2 separate regions of the Homo sapiens genome follow, and region 2 is linked to region 1. The links are contacts of gene promoters, found by promoter capture Hi-C in blood cells and fetal thymus (Javierre and others, 2016). All regions are on one chromosome and are shown on one strand. Each heading gives the region's core, a stretch centred on a gene start or on the middle of the fragment in contact. The rest is flanking DNA. Distances are from core to core; before and after follow the strand shown. Region 1 holds the start of RABL3 (RAB, member of RAS oncogene family like 3). Region 2 overlaps HGD (homogentisate 1,2-dioxygenase).

Region 1 (4,003 bases), core at 1,082-3,581:
GGCATAAGAGTTCAATTAAGTACTGGCATTCATAATAAATCCCCTATTTAGAAAAATGACTCTTATACCAATATGAGGAACGGACTCAAGTGAGTGAAGGTGGAGGCAGTGTGGAATATTGGGGGTATAAAATCTAAACTAAGAAGGCAAAAAAATTGCAAGAAGAGAACAGAATGAATGAAAGTTATTACAGAAAAAAAAATCAAAAGGACCCAACAAAATATATTGGATACAGAATATGAGAGTAGGAAAAATCTTAAATAGCTCTCTGTTTTGAGCCAGCGTAGCTAGGAAAAGTACTGCCATGAGAAATAGGTGACCCCTGACGAGGAGCAGGAAGAAATGAGGAAATCACTTTTAGAAGTGTCTTTGAGGAAATACCATAGGATATTCCTCTGAATATGCCCAGCAGGTAGCTGAACAAATGAAACTAGAGCTCAGGAATGAAATCAAGCTGTGCCACTTTGTTCAAAATCTCTGCATTCTAAAATCCTCCTTCCTGACCACTACCTTCTCTCCTCCATCACTTCCCACTCACGCTGAATCTCCTTACTCAATCTCTAGAGGTCTTAGGTAAGAGTTCTCAAACTGGCAGCCCCCCACGCATTGTATCACCCAAAGAATGTTTCAAAAATTTTCTGAATTAGTTGTCAACATTTAAAAATTGTAAGAGTTCACATAAATTTCAACTTCCAGCTCCTCTTGCAAAATTGGAAATATCTGAGGAAAAAGTGAGCCCATGTTCCCACATGGAAACAATAAGCTGAAGCCGAATAGCAGCTGGCGTTATTAGGGAAGGAGTATGGCTGGTCTCTGGAGACTTCTGAGCGTGGGACCTCCTAGGACCTTTGTTTCTTCCTTTGATCTCCATAGTCCATGAGTCAGATCCCAGCCTCACCTCCCTACCCCAGCCCAGACCCACGTGTATTTTAATCATATCAACATTTAAGGACTACTGTGCACCAGGCACGGAGCCAGAGAAACAAAGTTGAAAAGAAGGCACCCTCTGCCCTCTGTCTACCCTGTCAGCCTCATAACCAGCCACACCAGCATATTCTCAATTCCATGAGCCACATGTGCTTTCCCTGCATCCCAAGGCTTTGCACATGCTGTTCCTTCTGCCCCTACAGCTAAGCCCAAACCCCCTTCTCCTAATCATCCTTCAAGTCTCAAATGATATTTCCTCATGGAGGCCTTCCCAGACTCCCCATTAAGTAGCATACAATCATCCCCTTTCACGTGTTCCATGGCTCTTTCCCCCTTCTTGTACTTTCTCCATGTCTATCTCTAAGACCAGACTTCATCTTGTTCACCAATTAATTTCCAGCATCTAGCATAGCCAGACAAGTACTTCCATAAAACTTTCCATATGTCTCCTAGGCACGTTTTGTTCCAACATGGCTCATCTTGCCAGCTTCCCCCTGCTTCACTTCCTCCACTCTTGTTTCCAAGGTAGAATCGGACAGGCTACTGGGCACTCTCTTCTTAAATTTAAAACAGTTTTAAGCGGGAGGTGCGTGGATCAAATTCAGGATGTTAAAAGATTGTACTGACTGCAGAGTGGAGAAAAAAACAAGAAAAGTGGATGCGAAGAGACCAGTTAGATTACTTCAGTAAATCGCCACTCCAGTTCTAGAACAACTTGGGATTCTACACATCTAACTGCGGTGTTGTGTTACCACATTTCATGGCACTTTCCACGCCTTCACACACACAGCGGCAAACTACCGCGAAACCTCCGGACCCAGCTGCCCTCCACGAGACGCGTTCGGTGATATGCACTCCTCCCCAATGCGAGACTCCGAGACCCCAAACTCCCTCGGACTCTCCCAGTTGGGTCCAGGGCCACACTCGGCGCAGCCAAGCCCGCCCTACCCGAGGTCGCACACGGGCCGCTCCGGGGTCAATGGTTCTTTGGAGGACCAAGAGGACCAAGGCAACAGGGTAATTCATTAGGGGAGGATAGTTAAGAGGGAGCGAAAGGAAGAAGAAATCATGAAATGCAATGCCCGGCCAGGGAACTCCGAACAAGGAACAGGGAACAAGGTTTACCAAGGCGAATCCTGGAACACTCCCACTACAGCTGCCCCCAGCGCTTCAACTACCGGCTTAAATGAACCACGCCCCTTGCGCGACAAAGAAAACGCACTATTCCTGCGACCAGCTGGGGAAGCACCCCGCTACCTTTTACCAGACCAGCCAATGAGTTCAGTGAAACCTTCGATCAAGACAGTCACGCTCCGAGTGGCCAATGAAATTGAAGGCTCTGCCCTCCATGCCCAACTCTGATTGGCTTACAATCCAGGAACAGGCGTTAACCCAGGGAAGGCAGTGGCAAGATGGCGTCCCTGGATCGGGTGAAGGTACTGGTGTTGGGAGACTCAGGTGAGCGGCTTACCCTACCTCTGGGGCTCCAGACACTTTTGAGTTACCCAGTAACCCTCCCCTTAGCTTCCTTCCCTCAACTTCCTGGCTCCTCGGCCCGTGGCTGAAGTCCCTCCCAGGGCCTGAAGACTACACTTCCCAGGGGACTTTGCTCCGTGTGACGACGCGGTGGCGGCGGCGTCGTCGCGCGGGTGGGGGTCGCGGAGCCCGGGTCTTTTGCCTTCGCGGCTTTCCGCATCGGTCTCCCAGGCGACCCCAGCCTAGAGTGTATTGTCAATTCTTTTATTAAAAAAAAAAAAAAAAAAAGCAGGCATTGAGTATTGTATGGGGTTCTATGTTAAGGGTACAGAAGTTAGTAGGACCGTGCCTTCAAGAGATTTTGTTCATTAAGGAAGTCAAACGTGCACTGAGAAACGTGCACTGAGAAACGTGCACTGGCAAGCGCTTCGCATGTATTAACTCATTTAATTCTGAGACAGTCCTGTTATCCCATTTTACAGATGAGAGTAGTGAGGCAGAGAGATGTAAATGACAGAATCCTTTTGAACGCGGAGTCCACGAACTTAAACGCTAAGTTATAATTATGCAGTGACATATTGGGTAGTGGTCCTGTTTTATTCTTAACTGAGCTTAATTTCCTGGTTCTCGTTTGATCTTCATTGAAAACCTATTATGTCCTAGACTGTACAATAGAGAAATTAAAGTAAGAGTTTTATTCTGAAGCAGCTAGGATTTAACGCTGAGCCCAATTTAATCCTAGTGTTAAATATATATATATTTTTTTAATCTCAGTGGATGCAAAAAGAATTCTTTTGACACCTGGGACATTTGAGAACTACAGCTGGCGTCTGGATTTCCAGCTCCCACCTCACTGCCCTTATCTTTTCTTCCATAATCCCCAATTCAGCTCTCCTTAGTAACTTCAATAAATGCTGACCTTGCATTTTATAGAAGCGCTCCTCTGGAGTTGGCCTAAGAGCATGTGTTGTGAGCAAAGACGTTGTGCTAGATGCTTGGAGGTGGAGAGGCTTGAAAACTTAATAGAAACTAAATAAAATTGTGGGCAGCAAATATAGGTTAAGAATGTTTTCACATTGCCCTGAGGATTATTTGCATTATGAAATATTTTACAGAGAGCATTATTTAATATTCCCCTAAGAAAGTTGCCTTTTGAAACTTAATGAACATAATCACAATTTATGTCGACTTCATTTCTATCAGGTAGCTTGAAGTGGTGCCGAAGTTAATTTAATAAAATCACTCAGTTTTACAGATAAAGTAATTGTGGCCTAAAGGGACTTGGCAAGAGTATCACTGAGTAGAATTTACAATCCAGAACTAACAGACTTCTTCATGATACGTTAAGTGGGTGTTTTGTGTCCTTTATAATTCCATTTTCTATTGTATCTAACAATCCCTTCATATTACAAACTGTTGCAACTAGTCAATTTATTTTCTTTCCAACAGGCACTGTATTAGGTTCTGGGGTTATAACTGTGGAATTAATGCGTCATATAACAGGGATAGAATTAGCAGCTACATTAAATGTGGAAAAGTAATCAGGCAATTGATAAGCTTCCCTACTGCCCGCCTCCCCTGTTATGGTTTAGTTGTAAAG
Region 2 (4,003 bases), core at 669-3,168, 100 kb after region 1:
AGCCAGATACTCAACATTCCCCTGTGAACATAGCTTCATTCTCTACAGAGCATTGGTGATACTCTGACTTGTATTTGCCAAACTAAGTGGATAAACACTTAGTTTCTTTGTGGAAAATTTATCCCCCAAAACAACCAAGTGTTAATGTCGGTGGTAGAATGAGGAGAAAGGAACTTTATGAATTTGGAGAAGTCCCTGACCCCACAACTCTCAAGAGCCTCCTCTATGATCTCTGACTTCTCACCCCAGTGCCTTCATTCCTGGCTGTATTTGGCAGTGACAGAGTGAACAGCCCACTTCTAAAGTTACTCATAACTTTCAGTGCTTGAGTTTAAACCAAAGAAATTCTAGAGCATGAACTTGGTCATATTTTTCACTCAGTTCGCAGGCCACAAATGGTCTCTGGTCTACAGTGCAGGCTCCCAAGACCCTACATTCTTAATAAAGTGGTGGTTCTGAGACCCCGGGGGGAAGTTCATTTTGCAGCTCACTTCATAAGAGATGAACCTAACCCACAAGCTGGAAGGATAATTAGAGCAGAAGTCAGAGACTCAGAGGCAAAAGGATTATTGTGAGCCAGTTCAGTTTATCTCTGGGGGGACAAACCTACCTCTCCAAACAGCAGCAACTCTTAATAAAAGCAAAGGGGAAAAGAAAAGTGAGACATCAGACCCCAAACAAACAGCACGAAAAAGGATCCTGAGACACTGATAAAGCTTTATTTGTGATTCACTACCTTTGCTTTAATAGTTTCAGATCATGTCCCATGACAGTTGAAGAAATGTCAATTCTCACAGCAATAAGGGTTGGGTTTATTTTTATTTGAATTTACACAGATGCGATCTTCTCTGTATTGCTGCAATAGTTATTTTTCCAAAATTCAGTTCTGATCATGCCACCACTGTCTTCATTAGAAAGCCTTTGCAGGCTTCCCATGGCTTAGGATTAAGTCTGCACTCTGAAGCATGGTGTTTGATGCTCTTCACCATCTGTCCCTGGACTCATTTTCCAGTATCACCTCTTGCCCCTCTCCCTTCTGTCAATGCACTGGGGTTTTAGCCTTCTCTCCTCTTAACAAAATCTCTGTGCACTTTGATGTGTTTTCAGTGATTAAAATGTCATTTCCCTTCCTTCCCACTTCCTTAGTCCTCCCTCCCTCCCTCCCTCCCTTTTTCCCCCATCCCCGCCACGTCCTTCCTTTCTTTTTTTTTTTTTAACTTTTATTTTAGGTTCAAGGGTACATATGCTCCTTCCTTCCTTCCTTCTTTCCTTCCTTCCTTCCTTTCTCTCTCTCTTTTTCTTTCTTTCTGTTCATTCTTGAAGACCTACCTCAAATGTCACCTCCTCTTTGAAGCCTTCCTTGACCCTTTCAGGTAGAATTAGCTGCCCAACCCCCACCCCACAATTAATGCTAAAGAAGCAGGGAATCGATCCCCATGATCTTTGAATCTCCAGACTCTTACATGGCATCTGAAAGGGAACATGATTGTTGATTTCAATTAAATTGAATCTCAACCTTCTCACTAAAGAATTCTGAAGAGTTTTAAAAAGTATAATTTCGTCCCTCAACCTATCCTATCTCTACACTACCACTATGAAGACTACGGATGTAAATGCTGTGTTTTAGACCTGAAAGTCAAACAAAGGTAGGAAAGCAATGAACCACTTCTCAGACTTTTCTGCCAATGGATACAATCTGGAATCTCCGTATTCTCCCAAAGAGGAGCACATCTACACCAAAACTTGGATTTTGCTTTATTTCTATTTCTACTTTGCTCTGAGCATCCCTTCTGCTGCACATCTCAGCTCTAGTCAACTTGATCTGAGGTTGAGAAGCAGGCACCGTTGGTTCTCAGACCCACGGGGTAATAAGTTGCATGTAATGTGGGCTCAGCAGGGTGAAAAAGCAGTTCAGAATCCTTTTAGCTGGTGTTAATTCATTTTGCCTCAAGCACAGCAAGAGGAAAAAGTCATATGAGTGATTATTGCACCTTGATGACAAGCCCAGACTTCTGTTGTTTGATCAGAAATTAGGCTGTCCGTTTGCAGCAACATGGATGCAGCTGGAAGCCATAATCCTAAGCAAATTAATGCAGGAATAGAAAACCAACTTCTGCATCTTTTCACTTATAAGTGGGAGCTAAACATTGAGCACCCATGGACATAAACATGAGAAAAATAGACACTGGAGACTACTAGAAGGGGGAGGGTGAAAAAACTACCTATTGGATACTATGCTCGCTACCTGGGTGATGGGATCCTGTATTAGTCCATTTTCATACTGCTGTGAAGAAATACCCGAGACTGGGTACTTTATAAAGAAAAAGGGGTTTAACATATCCACAGTTCCACATGGCTGGGGAGGCCTCACAATCATGGTGGAAGGCGAAGGAGGAGCAAAAGCATGTCTTACATGGAGGCAATCAAGAGAGCATGTGTTGGGGAACTGCCCTTTATAAAACCATCAGATCTTGTGAGACTTATTCACTATCATGAGAACAGCATGGGAAAAACCTGCCCCCATGATTCAGTTACCTCCCACCGGGTCCTTCTCACAACATGTGGGGATTATGGAAGCTACAATTCAGGATGAGATTTGGGTGGGGACACAACCAAACCATATCAGATCCCTACCCCAAACCTCAGTATCACACAATATACCCATGTAACAAAACTGCATATGTATCCCTCTATCTAAATTAAAAGTTGAATAAAAATAAATAAAAAAATTAGAATGTCACTTGCAAACACCTTCATGTATGCATGAAATGTGTGTCATTGTCCAGTCACTTCCCTTGCATCATGCGTTCAGTCTCTCCTTGTGTGTTCACAGGACCCATCCATTTTCACAGTATTGACTGCTAAGTCTGTCCGCCCTGGAGTGGCCATTGCTGATTTTGTCATCTTCCCACCTCGATGGGGGGTTGCTGATAAGACCTTCAGGCCTCCTTATTACCATAGTAAGTCTCTCTTTTACCAAGCCACATTTGCAAGCCAAAGAGACAACAAAGCAGTGAGCGCTACACATTGGGAATAATGCCTGGGTTATTTCTGGACACCCACCATGGCATGAATTCAGGATCCTGCTGCACAAGGCCTAGTGCTGATCCCCAAGCTTTAATCTCTTTAAGGGATGGTAGTTGTGTTAGTCCATTCTTCGTTGCTATAAAGGAATACCTGAGGCTACTTAATTTATAATGAAAAGAGGTTCATTTGGCTCGTGGTTATGCAGGCTGTACAAGCAGCATGGTGCTGGCATCTGTTTCTAATGAAGCCTCAGGAAATACAATCATGGTGGCAGGCAAGAGGGAAGCTGGCATATCACATGATGAGAGCAAGCAAGAGAAAGGAGGAAGTCCCAGCTTCTTTTGAACAGCCAAACCCCATGTGAACTCATAGAGTGAGAACTCACTCATAACCGTCATGATGGCACCAAGCCATTTATGAGGGATCTGCCTCCATTACCCAAACACCTCAAACCAGGCCCCACCTCCAACACTGGGGATCACATTTCAACATGAGAGTTGGAGGGAACATACATCCAAACTACATCAACAGTGATGCATTGATTCTGAGCCTAGTTCCCAGTTTCTCTGTCCCTGTAAGAGGCAGAAAGGCTGGTAAAGTTTAGAAGCCTTGTTAGAAAGGCTTCTAAACAAGTTTCCTCACATTTTAGATGTTTCCTTTTGGGGAATACTGGGGAGGTTGTTAGTTAGTCTGTTGTTTTGGGAAAGTTCATCACCTAAGTCTGGTTCAGAGAACCAGAGAAATAAGAAGAGAGAGACAGAGAGAGACAGAGAGAGAGACAGAGAGACAGAAATGTGCCTTCTCCAATTATTTTGGCAGGGCAAAGCAGACTGCAGCCTGCATTAAGGAATGAACTCTATTCTGGAAAGAGTTTCTGCAGAACATTTGTTGCCTAGTACAAGACCTAACAAATCTACTATTTTTATTTTATTAATATTATTATTCTTAGCACCTAATAATTATTGTCCAATTTCTA

What was found. The method cuts DNA at HindIII sites, captures the fragments that hold promoters and counts their contacts. A CHiCAGO score of 5 or more calls a contact.
Region 2: a contact is called between a fragment that was not itself captured here and the fragment with the promoter of RABL3 in region 1, in 1 of 17 cell types (megakaryocytes). The highest score is 6.6, in megakaryocytes.

Annotation. Positions count from the first base shown.
Region 1 is chr3:120,740,844-120,744,846 of GRCh38, reverse strand. RABL3 (RAB, member of RAS oncogene family like 3) reads left to right here and starts at 2,331. Exons shown (of 8, transcript NM_173825.5): 1 at 2,331-2,385. The coding sequence starts at 2,340. GTF2E1 (general transcription factor IIE subunit 1) reads right to left here and starts at 2,103. Exons shown (of 5, transcript NM_005513.3): 1 at 2,053-2,103. RefSeq lists enhancers at 2,051-2,170, 2,051-2,345, 1,793-2,431, 2,311-2,600, 2,432-3,070. The HindIII fragment of the contact is 8,742 bases long and covers 1-3,962 here.
Region 2 is chr3:120,637,412-120,641,414 of GRCh38, reverse strand. It overlaps HGD (homogentisate 1,2-dioxygenase), which reads left to right. Exons shown (of 14, transcript NM_000187.4): 12 at 2,834-2,960. Among named protein-coding and RNA genes, the nearest start is that of HGD, 43 kb to the left of the region's middle. The HindIII fragment of the contact is 2,399 bases long and covers 719-3,117 here.